Linked DNA regions of Homo sapiens: regions 2, 3, 4 and 5 are each linked to region 1. Evidence: promoter capture Hi-C in 16 types of primary human blood cells and fetal thymus (Javierre and others, 2016). All regions are on one chromosome and are shown on one strand. The core of a region is centred on a gene start or on the middle of the fragment in contact, and the rest is flanking DNA. Distances in the headings are between cores, read along the strand shown. Region 1 holds the start of LMF2 (lipase maturation factor 2). Region 2 overlaps PPP6R2 (protein phosphatase 6 regulatory subunit 2). Region 3 holds the start of PPP6R2 (protein phosphatase 6 regulatory subunit 2). Region 4 overlaps SHANK3 (SH3 and multiple ankyrin repeat domains 3). Region 5 holds the start of DENND6B (DENN domain containing 6B).

Evidence for each region. Contacts are between HindIII fragments. The CHiCAGO score rates a contact against its expected background, and 5 or more counts as called.
Region 2: a contact is called between a fragment that was not itself captured here and the fragment with the promoter of LMF2 in region 1, in 4 of 17 cell types (M1 macrophages, M0 macrophages, naive CD8 T cells and 1 more). The highest score is 6.2, in M1 macrophages.
Region 3: the fragment with the promoter of PPP6R2 here is called in contact with the fragment with the promoter of LMF2 in region 1 in 12 of 17 cell types (naive CD8 T cells, total CD8 T cells, fetal thymus and 9 more); the score reaches 8.1 in naive CD8 T cells.
Region 4: a fragment that was not itself captured here is called in contact with the fragment with the promoter of LMF2 in region 1 in 2 of 17 cell types (M0 macrophages and M1 macrophages); the score reaches 7.7 in M0 macrophages.
Region 5: a contact is called between the fragment with the promoter of DENND6B here and the fragment with the promoter of LMF2 in region 1, in 4 of 17 cell types (monocytes, M0 macrophages, M1 macrophages and 1 more). The highest score is 7.6, in monocytes.

What each region holds. Positions count from the first base shown.
Region 1 is chr22:50,506,321-50,509,020 of GRCh38, reverse strand. It overlaps LMF2 (lipase maturation factor 2), which reads left to right and starts at 1,319. Exons shown (of 14, transcript NM_033200.3): 1 at 1,319-1,439; 2 at 1,986-2,239; 3 at 2,355-2,383; 4 at 2,519-2,700. The coding sequence starts at 1,346. It overlaps NCAPH2 (non-SMC condensin II complex subunit H2), which reads right to left and starts at 797. Exons shown (of 20, transcript NM_152299.4): 1 at 576-797. The coding sequence starts at 683. RefSeq lists silencers at 259-548, 1,219-1,318 and an enhancer at 1,539-1,588. The HindIII fragment of the contact is 8,515 bases long and covers 1-2,700 here.
Region 2 is chr22:50,364,014-50,366,713 of GRCh38, reverse strand. The region is part of intron 1 of PPP6R2 (protein phosphatase 6 regulatory subunit 2); the gene reads right to left. Among named protein-coding and RNA genes, the nearest start is that of PPP6R2, 22 kb to the right of the region's middle. The HindIII fragment of the contact is 3,569 bases long and covers 1-2,700 here.
Region 3 is chr22:50,342,047-50,344,746 of GRCh38, reverse strand. It overlaps PPP6R2 (protein phosphatase 6 regulatory subunit 2), which reads right to left and starts at 1,420. Exons shown (of 24, transcript NM_001242898.2): 1 at 1,197-1,420. RefSeq lists silencers at 1,160-1,239, 1,250-1,529, 1,800-1,969 and an enhancer at 2,066-2,700. The HindIII fragment of the contact is 9,108 bases long and covers 1-2,413 here.
Region 4 is chr22:50,693,977-50,696,676 of GRCh38, reverse strand. It overlaps SHANK3 (SH3 and multiple ankyrin repeat domains 3), which reads right to left. Exons shown (of 25, transcript NM_001372044.2): 12 at 1,631-1,902. Among named protein-coding and RNA genes, the nearest start is that of SHANK3, 23 kb to the right of the region's middle. RefSeq lists an enhancer at 1,124-1,624. The HindIII fragment of the contact is 1,821 bases long and covers 374-2,194 here.
Region 5 is chr22:50,325,729-50,328,428 of GRCh38, reverse strand. DENND6B (DENN domain containing 6B) reads left to right here and starts at 1,417. Exons shown (of 20, transcript NM_001001794.4): 1 at 1,417-1,617. The coding sequence starts at 1,441. RefSeq lists a silencer at 1,029-1,668. The HindIII fragment of the contact is 18,876 bases long and covers 437-2,700 here.

The DNA of each region.
Region 1 (2,700 bases), core at 70-2,569:
CACTGCTGATCAAGACAAGAAACATTTAAGTGTCGTGGACGCCAGACTGAGCTGGGCTGAGGAGTAAAAATGAAGCGCAAATATGGAGCAGACAGCTTAACACAGGTCTAGACAGGGCTGTCAAACATGGAAGAAACACTAATCGCTAACAGGATAGAGCATGGCAATAGCTTGAAATTGGTTTGAAAATCCAAGATAAAAAATTCCTCTGACATCGTGATCCAGACCTCTCAAACACACAAGCATGCTCGCAATAACTGCAATAAAAGCAATAATGCTTTCTAGTCTATTCCACTACGTTAGAGAAACGGCTGGTCACCACCCACTCAATCATTCACGGCTCGCTGACGGGTAGAAACCTGCAATGACAGGTCCACGCTAATCCAACAAGGGATGATTTGGGGAGGCAGAGATGGAGTTTGAAAAGAAGCAGGGAGCCCGAGGACCTGCGCGGCCAGAGCGCCAGATAGCCATAGGCGTGGAGACGGTGGGGCGCCCACAGCCCCGGGCCCGGAGCCCCCGCCCCGCAGCCCCACCCGCCGGCCCACCCCGCGTCACTCCCCCGCCGCCCTTACCTCCTCCAGATACTCGCCCAGCTGGGCCGCCACGTCCACCTCCCAGTTCTTGGTGAGGTCGCGGATGGGCTGCAAGAGGTGGGCGAAGCGCGCCTCCACGTCCTCCATGTCCGGGAGGGAACGGGCGGCAAAGGGACCGCAGGGCTGCCTTCCGAGGGGTACGGCGTCCTCAGCCCGCCACTAGTTCTGGCGCCATTTTGCTGTTCCCGCCCAGGAAAATGCGTAGGCGCGGCGTCGCGCGCATGTCTATGACGTAACGTGGGCAAAAGCCAGAGAGGCGAACCCCGGCGCCGCGCAGCGGGAGCTCACCGGAAGAGTCGCGGGGCGGGGTCGAAGCCTCCGGGAGGGGGGGGTGGGCGGAGCTTTGGGCTGCCACCAGTTTGGACGGGAGGGCTTTTGGGGCCGCCGTGGGTCGGGCGGGGCGGGGTGGGGCGGGGCCTGGAGCTGCCGCGGGCGAGCGGGCCGAGGAGGCGGGGCTTGGGGGCTGCCACGGGTTGGGGGGGCGGGGCGGTGAGGAGGCGGGGCCTGGGGCAGCCGCGGGCGGGCGGACGGGCCGAGGAGGCGGGGCTTGGGGCTGCCACGGGTTGGGCGGGCGGGGCGGTGAGGAGGCGGGGCCTGGGACTGCCGCGGGCGGGCGGGCGGGCCGAGGAGGCGGGGCTTGGGGCTGCCACGGATTGGGCGGGCGGGGCGGTGAGGAGGCGGGGCCTGGGGCTGCCGCGGGCGGGCGGACGCGGAGGGCGGGCCCTGCTCTAGCGGGCCGCGTAGCGGACATGGCGGGCTCCCGGCTCCCGCGGCAGCTCTTCCTCCAGGGCGTGGCGGCCGTCTTCATGTTTGCTTTCGCTTCCCTCTACACGCAAATCCCAGGTGAAGGCACCCAGGGTGGGACACCCCCAGCCTCGGCGCGGGACCCTATGTCCTCTTTTCTCTGTGCCCGGCACTCACGCAGTCCGGGGTTGGGAGTGAGGGCCAGGCCTTGGCGTGGGGTAGGGGGCGGCGGTTCGTGTCCTGCAGGCCGCTGTGGGGGTAGGAAGGTGTGCGGTGATCCATTTCCCGTAAGGCTCTGGACTCTGACCTGGGGTGGGGGACAGAACTCTGAGAGAGGTGGGAGAGAGGCTTCCTCCCAGACCTGGTGGGACAGGTAGGAGATCGGGCTGAGACCTGGAAGAGGGCAGTGGGCTCTGCTGGGTGGGAGGCCCTGACTCAGGTAGTTGAGCAGGCCTCTAGCCCTGGGACGGGGTTTTGACAGGTCCCGACCTGGGGGACGGGCTCTGGAGGGACTGCAGACTCTGACCTAGGGATGGAGGTATCCGCATGCTCTGACCTAGGCTGGGGGATCTGCAGGCCCTGACTCAGAGGTAGTCTAGTCTGCAAGGGCTGTCCAGGGCCTGGCCATGACATGCCCTCCCACAGGCCTGTATGGCCCCGAGGGCATCCTACCTGCAAGGAGGACGCTGCGGCCTCAGGGCAAGGGGCGCTGGCAGCAGCTGTGGGAGACCCCGACGCTGCTGTGGGAAGCGCCGAGACTGGGGCTGGACACGGCCCAGGGCCTGGAGCTGCTGAGCCTGCTGGGTGCACTAGTGGCCCTGGGAGCCCTGCTGCTGAGCCCACTGCGCCACCCTGTCATCTACTTGCTGCTTTGGGCCGCCTACCTGTCAGCCTGCCAGGCAAGTGGGACCTGTGACCAGCTCACTCTATCTCCAACCCCCACCACCCACCCCTGCCTCTACCTTACCTGAGTCCACAGACACACCCGCTCCCTGACAGCCCCTCTCTCCGCAGGTGGGCCAGGTGTTCCTTTATTTCCAGTGGTGAGTGACGGCTGGGCCTGGGGCTGTGGGAGGCTGGGTAGGGGGTGGGGGAGGGCTCTGCCCTTCCTGGGAGGACTTTCCGAGGGAAGCAGCTGTGTGGGGAGGGGCTCTTGGTGCTATTTGCTCTCCCCATAGGGACTCCCTGCTGCTAGAGACTGGCTTCCTGGCCGTGCTGGTGGCCCCGCTGAGGCCAGCCTCCCACCGCAAGGAGGCCCCCCAGGGCAGGCAGGCAGGGGCCCTGCCCCACGAAGACCTCCCCTTCTGGCTGGTGCGATGGCTGCTGTTCCGCCTCATGTTCGCCTCAGGCGTGGTCAAGC
Region 2 (2,700 bases), core at 169-2,668, 140 kb after region 1:
AGATCCACACAGGACACCTCCCACTCCAGTCTCCAGCCAAGCACTGATCAGTGCATGTGTGTAAGGAAGGTATTCAAGCCAGGGAAAGCATCACTCAAAAAGATGAGAGGGGCCGGGTGCGGTGGCTCACACCTGTAATCCCAGCACTTTGGGAGGCCGAGGCCGGTGGATCACCTGAGGTCAGGAGTTCGAGACCAGCCTGGCCAACACGGTGAAACTCCATCTCTACTAAAAATACAAAAATTAGCTGGGCATGGTGGCGGGCACCTGTAATCCCAGCTACTGGGGAGGCTGAGGAAGGAGAACTGCTTGAACCCGGAGGCTGCAGTGAGCTGGGATTGCACCACTGCACTCCAGCCTAGGTGACAGAGCGAGACTCCATTTAAAAAAAAAAAAAAAAAAGATGAGAGGGAACAATCCTCAAAGCTCACGCAGAGCCTATTCCTGCCAGTTGCAGTGGAAAACCTTGTAATTCACAAGGCTTTGGACGTAATGCTCAGAAGACGTTTGCCTCAGTGGCAGAGCAAAACTAGCCCTAGACTAAAAATTACTAGGGTTCCACCTAACAAAGCTGAAATGCAAGACCTATCAGAATCAAACTGTTTCCAAGTAATTGAACCTCATCCCAGAACAAAGGTCAAGAATATTTATAGGAACACAAAAATGCTCAGTATCCAACAAGATAAAATTCACAAAGTCTGGGCATCTGATCAAAAAGTTCTAGGCATGCAAGGGAGCAGGAAAAGAAAAATCATAAACCATAATGAGGGGAAAAACAACACAAAACCAACCCAGAAATGACACAGATGAGTTAACAGATAATGCTGGTACAGGGGCTCATGTCTATAATCCCAGCTACTCAGGAGCAAGGTGGGAGAATCACTTGAGGCCTGGAGTTTGAGGTTGCAGTGAGCCAGGATTGCACCACTGCAATCCAGCCTGAGTGACAGAGCAAACAGAACACTGTCTCTAAAAAAATAATAATAAATAAAGAATTGATAAGGACATTTAAATGGTTCTTTTTTTTTTTTTTTTGAGACAGAGTCTTGCTCTGTCGCACAGGCTGGAATGCAGTGGTGTGATCTCAGCTCACTGCAAGCTCCGCCTCCCGGGTTCATGCCATTCTCCTGCCTCAGCCTCCCGAGTAGCTGGGACTACAGGCGCCCGCCACCACGCCGGGCTAATTTTTTGTATTTTTTAGTAGAGACGAGGTTTCACCGTGTTAGCCAGGATGGTCTCGATCTCCTGACCTCATGATCCACCCACCTCGGCCTCCGAAAGTGCTGGGATTACAGGCGTGAGCCACTATGCCCAGCCTAAATAGTTCTTATAAGTGTATCTCATGCCAGGCACGGCGGCTCATACCTGTAATCCCAGCACTTTGGGAGGCCGAGGCAGATGCATCGCCTGAGGTCGGGAGTTCAAGACCAGCCTGGCCAACATGAAGAAACCCCGTCTCTACTAAAAATATAAAATTAGCCAGGTGTGGTGGTGCATGCCTGTAATCCCAGCTACTTGGGACGCTGAGGCAGGAGAATTGCTTGAACCCGGGAGGTGGAGGTTGCGGTGAGCCGAGATTGCGCCATTACAATCCAGCCTGGGCAACAAGAGCAAAACTCCGTCTCAAAAAAAAAAAAAAAAAAAGTATCTCATATGTTCAAGAACCTAAAGGAAAGATTAAGTAAAGACATGGAAGATATACAAAGACCCAAAGAGAATCATAAAAGATTTTTTTTCTTTTTATGCCCACCTTCTAATACCATCACACATAAAAACATTCTTAATCCAAAATAAGGTAGAAAAAGACAAACAGGGAATAAAGAATACACCGTACTTCTGCTGTAAGCCTCTACACGATGACACATTAAGTGGGACCCGCACACAATACAACTTTGGCACTCTTTCCTCATCCCCACCTGATTCCATAACCGTACCAAAACTATCTAAATATGCTGAGTGTCTCCCCCAGCTAACACCTTTGCACACACAGACCCTCTGACTGGAATGCCTTCTTCCCACTTTCTCTATTTGACAAACTCTTGCCTGATCTTCCTATCTGAAGACCATCTATAGCTACCTTTGTCAACTTTCTGAGTCCCTCCTCAGTGCTCTCACAAGACTGTTTATATCTTTCAGAGAATTATAACTCAGTTTTAAATATTTTTATTTTTAATTATGAAATTTTTTAAATATATTGAAGTCTAGAGAAGGACATAATATCCATGTGATGAGACTTAACAAACACTAACATTTGTTTGTATGTGCCTCCTTCTTAAACAAATGTTTCTACGACACTGAGGAACCCAGGAACTCAAGCAATCCCCTTCTTGAGAGACAATCACTAACTTGCAGTATCCGTAATTTCATTATTTTATGACTTATATACCTAAAAATGGTACATTGCTTTAAATACATATTTCAAGTATGACACTTCTCTCATATACCAAGTTCCCATTTATACAGGGTCCTTTTCCAGGCTATCCATTCCACTGGCCTCACAATAAGTCTGAAAACCTGGGCCAGGCACGGTGACTCAAGCCTGTAATCCCAGCACTTTGGGAGGCCGAGGTGGGCAGATCACCTGAGGTCAGGAGTTTGAGACCAGCCTGGTTAACATGGTGCAACCCCGTCTCTACTAAAAATACAAAAAAACTAGCCAGACGTGGTGGTGCATGCCTGTAATCCCAGCTACTCGGGAGG
Region 3 (2,700 bases), core at 171-2,670, 160 kb after region 1:
AACTGACTGGAGGAGGCACTGACTGGGGGGGAACTGACTGGAGGGGGCACTGACTAGGGGGAATTGACTGGAGGGGGCACTGACTGGGGGGCACTGACTGGGGGGAAACTGACTGGGGGGGCACTGACTGGGGGGAACTGACTGGAGGGGGCACTGACTGGGGGAAACTGACTGGAGGAGGCACTGACTGGGGGGAATTGACTGGAGGGGGCACTGACTGGGGGGAATTGACTGGAGGGGGCACTGACTGGGGGGCACTGACTGGGGGGAAACTGACTGGGGGGGCACTGACTGGGGGGGAACTGACTGGAGGGGGCACTGACTGGGGGAACTGACTGAAGGGGGCACTGACTGGGGGGGGAACTGACTGGAGGGGGCACTGACTGGGGGGAATTGACTGGAGGGGGCACTGACTGGGGGGCACTGACTGGGGGGCACTGACTGGGGGGAAACTGACTGGGGGGGCACTGACTGGGGGGAACTGACTGGAGGGGGCACTGACTGGGGGAAACTGACTGGAGGAGGCACTGACTGGGGGAAACTGACTGGAGGAGGCACTGACTGGGGGAAACTGACTGGAGGAGGCACTGACTGGGGGGAAACTGACTAGAGGGGGCACTGACTGGGGGGGAACTGACTAGAGGGGGCACTGACTGGGGGGGAACTGACTAGAGGGGGCACTGACTGGGGGGGGAACTGACTGGAGGGGGCACTGACTGGGGGAAACTGACTGGAGGAGGCACTGACTGGGGGAAACTGACTGGAGGAGGCACTGACTGGGGGGGAACTGACTGGAGGGGGCACTGACTGGGGGGAAACTGACTGGAGGGGGCACTGACTGGGGGGGAACTGACTGGAGGGGGCACTGACTGGGGGGCACTGACTGGGGGGAAACTGACTGGGGGGAAACTGACTGGGGGGGAACTGACTGGGGGGGAACTGACTGGAGGGGGCACTGACTGGGGGAACTGACTAGAGGGTGCACTAACTGGGGGGGAACTGACTGGAGGGGGCACTGACTGACTTGGGGGGGGCACTGACTCCGGGGGCACCGACTGGGGGGAACTGACTGGAGGGGGAACTGACTGACTGGGGGATAACTATCTGGAGGGGGCACTGACTGACTCGGGGAGAAGTGACTTGGGGGGCACTGGCAGACTGGGGGCCGGGTCTGAGCGGCGGGCGGCCGCACTCACCTGCCCTGCGGGCCGGGCGTCGCGGCAGCTCTTCGGAGGCCCGTGTGGAGGCCCGAGCGGAGGCCAGGGCGCTGGTGGAGGCAAAGCCCGGGCGGCCTCGGGCGGGCCGCACACACATGGGCCCGGCCGAGGGCGCAGCGCCTACGGACACCGGCACGGCCGGCCGGCGGCTCGAGACCGACTCGGGGCCGCGGGCGGCACTCCGATCGCTCCAAAATGGCGGCGGCGGCGCACGGGCACGCGCTCCGGGGGCGGGGTCTCCGCTTGGGGCGCGCACGCTCGCGGCCGGGGGCGGGGCCGCGCGGGTGGGCGGGGCCGGGACCTGGGCCGGCTCTCCGGGCCCCCTGGAGTGGGGCACTCGGTGAAACCCGCGTGGGAGCACGAGGGCTTGGGTGTGCTGACTGCTGCCTTGGAGTGGGTGGGGTAAGAGTGCGTCTTTCCCCTTTTACGTTTCCCTTTGAGGTATTGGCTAAAGTTTTGTGCAAGCATAGTTAATTTTGTTGTAGCCACAAAACAATCCTCGCGTGGCCCGACGCAGCATTTGAGAGACACACACCTGGGGCAGGGGTTTCCCCCGTGGCCCAGGAAAGGGCCTGTTCTCCCGGGCCTCCCTCCTGCCACAGGCCCCTCCCAGAGGCCGCGGGGCGTGGACGCCCCGAGCAGCAGGAGCGGGCTCAGCCCCGGGCGCCAGGCCTGGCCCCTCCCCGTCCCGCGTCCTGCCTGGACCCGGAGTGCCTGAGCCGCCTCCAGACAGTTTTCTCCAGGTGCGCTACGGGTTCTTGCACGGCGTTTTGCAAATTAAGTATGTGCCTATTTAACAAGTGCTGGAATTGTTTAATTCCATCAAAATAATTTCAAAAATGATTACTATTATTTCAGATGTTAGAGCGAGCCGTGGGTAAATGTTGGGAAAACATGGAGCACTTAAGGGATCTCTAAACGTTTTTTCCAGTTGTCAGTGTATTGCCCAGGATTCACCGATGCTCTCTGCGAAAGCGTATCTGGGCGGCTCAAATATTCGGTATTTCTCTTTTGCCAGCTGGCGCTGTTAGGCTTTGTCGGTAGAGGGCGCCAGAGACGTTGCAGGAGAAAAGGGCTTGGCCCTGCGGCTGGCGGCCCCGGGCTTCCCCGACGCCTGTCCCCTGCCCTGGTCAGCAGCACCCTCCTCGCCGGTTTTATAGCAGATGCCTCTGGCGAGCCTTTCCCCAGCAAAAGCTTTTCCCCTAGCATCCTAAGGGGCAGATTTCTGGCAGGTTCCGTTGAGGGAACTTCCAGGAAGTGGGGGTGAAAAAGCCTCAGCCTCACAACCTAGAGAAGAGACACCCTGCGTTCAGCAGGCTATGCCCTTCTCCTGCCCTCACCATGGTCTCCTTTGCAGGAGCGGGAGGTGCTGCTGAGTTGAGCTACGGAATGGGGACTGGGGCCAGGGGCACCAGATGCAGGAGATGCTCCTGCTGCCGTGAGCACGTGCAACTCTGCCTGATCTTGATACCCCTCCTGTGCT
Region 4 (2,700 bases), core at 35-2,534, 190 kb before region 1:
GCCCCATAAGGGGATCACTGCCCACCTAACTGCTGCTTAGCCCGGGCCCTCGGCTGTCAACTTCCTGAGACCCACCACCTCTGACGCACCAGGCACCCAATAAATGTTTGCGAGGAAGGAAAAAACAGAATTCTGCCATCCCCACAGAGCAGGTGAGCTGGAGCCCCTCACACAGCAGGTCTTAGTTTTGTGTCTGCTGAAAGGATGAATGAACACGTACAAAAAATGAATGCAGGGAGGAGCCTGTGGCAACGCGTGCCTCCAACTCAGGAGCAGCCTTTCTGCGGGATGGAAACATCCGGAATGCAGAATGTGTTCTTTCAGCCACTGGGCCGCCCAGCCCTTAGAAAATCCGCGGGTCTATAAGAAAGCTTCAGGGGAGAATTGAGATTTGGGGCAGTACAGCCAGCCTTGCGAGTCCAACAAGCCCAGGCAAAGACAGACACGGAGACATCGCTGAGACCAGGCTGCAGAGCAGGGGCGGCAGCACAGGAAGGGGCGCCTTCCATAGGCCCTGCTGCACCCTGAGCCCTCTGCTGAACACTCAGGCTTAGAAAGTTGGGGATTGGGTCTACCTGGGGCCCAGTGAAGCTGATCCGTAGCTCTGTGACTCTGGACCCGTCACAGGCCCCACCTGCGTACCAGGACGCTCATCTGTAACATGGTATTAATAGAGCATGAACATGTACGTTCGTCAAGGTTAAAGGAGCTAGTATACACATGCCATTCAGCCCAACAGCGGGCCTGGACTGACAGAACTGTAAAGGCCGGCGGCCATCCTGACAACAACATACTGTTTATGTAACTCTTCCACTCAACAATGTCTGCCAAACACCCTCCTCAGTGCCTGGCTCTGATGAAACTAGGAAACGACAAAGACGGTGCCTGCCTTCAAGGCACAGGGAGGGCAGGTGCTTTTACCGGCAGTTGCCAGACTCTGCCAGGTGATCCCTCACCTGCCCAGGGCATTCTGGAAGGCTTCCCAAAGACAATGACTTAGGTAGGACTATTCCCACTTACTGATGAGAAGCCCAGGCACAAAGTGGCTGAGAGCCAGTGCGCCCACCTCAGCACCCAATGCACAGCCCAGAGAGGCCAGTGGGCTCCGGTCCAGGCATCCCTGCCTCAGGGACCCAGGCCTCAGGGTGAGGGTAAAGAATAGAAGCCACAGAGTCCTGTAGGTGTGCCAGGGCTGGGGGAAACCATGAGTATACCCTGGGGACAGGGCTGGGGCTTACCTGTAGGTTTTGGGCCCTACTGGAGTGGCAACTCCATCCCTGTCCCCCTTACCACAGGCCACCAGCCCTGACTCTTCCCAGCCATGCCTGACAATGCAGTGTGTTTTCTAAATCACAGGTAGGAGCATACCCTCTCCACCTAACACGCTCCCTCAACTGCCCACTGTCCTCATGGCAAGCCCAGCTCCAACCGGAAATCAGCGTGCATGTGCCTGTCCCCACCTCCAGAGATGCCTTCTTCCCTTCCCCAACCAGGAAGCCCTAGCCCATCACTACACAGGTGCTAGGCACCACCAGGCCTCTCTCTGCCTCCCGGTGCTGGCTCCTCCTGGCTCAGGTCCCGGCACCCCACCCTCCCAACCCCTCCAGGGCCTGCCAGCCCCCTCCTACCTGATCTTGCTTTGGCCGGCCCTGCCTGCTAAAGGGCCACTGATGTTGCTCTCCTGGTCGGCATCCCGGTCACGATCTTTCTCCTCTTGCAGCCGCTGGAGCAGCAGCTGGTGGGGGAGGCTTCTCAGCGAGGGTCCAGGAGAAGCTGCTGGCTGTGCCTCCCCCTTCAGGTTGATATCGCTGGCTGAGCGCTGCAGAGGCCGAGGGGATGCCAAGCCACTGGGGCCAGCCAGTCGCCGCCGCTTCGCATAGCTGGGGGTTTCCCTGAATGGTACTGGGGTAAGGGGGCATAGGTAAGACTCTGAACAGCCAGCTGGGTGACCAACTTGTCCAGTTTGCCCAGGCTTTCCAGATGTTAAAACTAAATCCTATGTTCCAGGAACTGCCTTGGTTCCAGGCAAACCAAAAGAGTTGGCCACCCTACAAATGAAGCTACCATTAAGGGGCCACATCCCAGTCAAACTGCCTCTCACCCTAGCTTCAGAGGTAGAAGCCTGCTTCTCCTCTCAGCCGAAAGGGGCCTTGAGGGTGCTCAGATATGCTCTAAGAACTGCATTTCACAAGCTTCAGGAGAGACAAAACAGGCTACATGTGACGAATCTCACCAGACTACTGCTGAACAGGACCATTTGCAGTTAACTATAACCAGGGAAACTATAAAAGACATTCTAGACCAGGGATCAGCAAACCTTTTCTGGAAAGAATTGGACAGTAACTACTTAAGGCTTTGCAAGCTATATAGTCTGTGTTGCAATGACTCAACTCTGCCACCGCAGCATGAAAACCACCACAAACAACATACAAGCAGATAGGTGTGTTTGTGTTCCAATAGAATTTTACTTAAAAAGCAGATAGTGATTAAAAAGTATTATCCAACTATATGCTACTTACAAAATAATCACTTTAAATCCAAAGACACAAATAGGTTCAAAGTGAAAGGATAAAAAAAGCAATCTAATGTAAATAGTAACCAAAAGAGAGCTGGGTGGTTATATTAACATCATACAAAATAAACTTTAAGATAAAAACTGTAACAAGAGACAGAGAAGGACATTATATGTTGATTAACAAT
Region 5 (2,700 bases), core at 168-2,667, 180 kb after region 1:
TGGTGAAACCGTTTCTACCAAAAATACAGAAATTAGCCTGGCGTGGTGGTGCACGCCTGTAATTCCAGCTACTCGGGAGGCTGAGGCAGGAGAATCGCTCGAACCCAGTAGGCAGAGGTTGCAGTGAGCCAAGACCATGCCATTGCACTCCTGCCTGGGCAACAAGAGCAACATTCTGTCTCAAAAAAAACAACAGAAACAAACAAACAAAAAACAATACGGCCATGTGCTACTCAACGGTGAAGCTATGTCCTGAGAAATGTGTCATTAGGCGATTTTGTTATGTGACAAACCTAGATGGGACAGCCTACCCCACACCTAGGCCAGATGATCCGAACAACACGTGGTAATCTTTTATTTTTTTATTTTTGAGATGGAGTCTCACTCTGTCGCCCAGGCTGGAGTGCAATGGCGACATCTCAGCTCACTGCAAGCTTCGCCTCCGGGGTTCAAACGATTCTCCTGCCTCAGCCTCCCCAATAGCTGGGGTTACGGCGCTCGCCAGCCACCACGCCCGGCTAATTTTTGTATTTTCAGTAGAGACAGGGTTTCACCAGGTTGGTCTCGATTTCCTGGATTCGTGATCCGCCACCCCACCTCGGCCTCCCAAAGCGGTGAGATTACAGGCGTGAGCCACCGCGTCTGGCCAACACGTGGTAATCTGAAGGGACCACCACAGTATATGCGGCCCGCCTTCCACGGAAACGTCATGAGGCCCACGACTCAAAGGCGTGCCTCATTAAGTTACCGACAGCCCCAAACTCGCCCTTCCACGCCGGGCCTCAAGGTGCTCTGTGGACCACAGCGGGGCCCGGGGCCCTCGCGAGGGAGGGAAGAGTTCGCTCCAGGTCCCCGCGATTCCCCCGGAAAGTGAAACTGCAGAGGTGTTGCGTGGACACCCGCGGTCAGACACGACCCCAGGCCGCGCGGGCCCCAGAGGAAGCGAGCGCGAGTCCGCGGTGGTGGCTGGGCGCTCAGTGAGGACGCCATTCCGCCACGAAAACGCCCGCGACGCCGCTGGCCCCTGCGCGGTGGGGCGAGGTAGGCTGGCCGGACCTGCGAAGCCCGACGAGCCCGGCGCCGGCTGGCTGCAGCTTGCTCTGCCTCCCTGGCCTGGCCCCGAGGCTCCCGCGAGCCGGGATCCGCGAACACCGGGGCCGAACCGACTCTCTCGGGCCTCAGACGGCGTGGACCCTGGAAGGCCCCAGTTCGGCCGCTTCCCCGGAAGTCCCCCAGTGGGCTCCGGCCGCTCTGGCCCGCGCGCGTCCGGCTCGCTGGTGCCCTGGGCGGCGCCCGGCCGCTGGCGCTTCTCGGGCGCTAGGGGGCGCGCGGCCGCGCGGGAGCCGCACTGGGCCGCGGCGGCCGCTCGACTGTTCTGAGGAGCGGCCCGGACGCGCGCCGCCCCCGCCCGCGTTTCCCCGGCAACCCGCGGCCGCCGCCATGGACGCGCTGTTGGGCACAGGGCCTCGCCGGGCTCGCGGCTGCCTGGGCGCGGCTGGACCCACGTCTTCAGGTCGCGCGGCGCGGACCCCGGCGGCGCCCTGGGCGCGCTTCTCCGCCTGGCTGGAGTGTGTGTGCGTGGTCACCTTCGACCTGGAGCTGGGCCAGGCGCTGGAGGTGAGCGGGCGCGAGCGCGGGCGCGGGCGGGTGGGCAGGGCTGCGCCTCTCGGGGCCAGTCCCGCCTCGCTTGGGGCCCTCGGCCGCCCCGCACTCTCCCTGGCCTTCGGCCGCCGCCTCCTGGAGGGGCCTCTTCTCCGGGCTCCAGAAGCGCTCCCCAGGCCGAGGAGGGAAGGCGAGCTGCTCGGAGTCGGATCTTGTCTTCACATTGGGATGGAGCATTTTGCATAACCTAAGTGGTACTCTTTCGATTTTTCCCAGTAAATGTCTCACATCTCCCCCCTCCATTCCCCACCGGAGCAGTGACACCTTCATCCCCTCAGTGGCTCCCGCCAGAGTCCCGGGCTTACCCTCCGCTCCGCATCCCATCTCTGGGCATAGGCGAGGCTGACGGCTCCTTCTGCAACAAAGGTCTCGGATCCGTTCCTTTGCTGCCATCACTGATGTCATCCCCACCCCAGCTGCACCCCAGAGTTCAACCTTTGTGGCTCTCCTGCTTAAAACCCTGCAGCGCCTCCTTGTTCACCTAGCATCAGATCCAGACCCCATGGGCCCCGTCCCTCCACCTGCGTCTTGTGGTGTTCTTGCTCGTGGGGGTCTGTTCATCGGCTGTGCCCATGGGCTTTCGATGTGGTCTTTCTGCTGCCTGCAGGCCTCCACTCACCTACCCACACAGGCAGCCTCCTTTCCTCCAGGGAGGCCCCGCAGGATGATCTTCTCTGTGTCCTGTGTAACACACACCAGGGAGCTGACCAGCACAGGGGAGGCCCACCTGCAGATGGAGGGAGGCTTCCCCGCGCTGGCGCAAGGAACCTCGTGAGGGGTAGTGAGCTCTCTATTACCGCAGGTGTCCAAGATCAGGCCAAATCATCATCATCAGGAAAGCCAGGCAGCGCGTCTCTGTGGTTGGGAGATGCTTTCTAAGGCCCTGCTGAACTCCAAGAGGCCATGAGAAGCATATAGTCTTCTAAACAGAAAAGCATTAACTCTAGCACTCTCTGGAGCCCCTCCCACCACACACGGTCCCCAGCAGGTGCACAGCCTCAAACAGCATCACTGGGTGGGGGCTGAGTACCAAGAAGT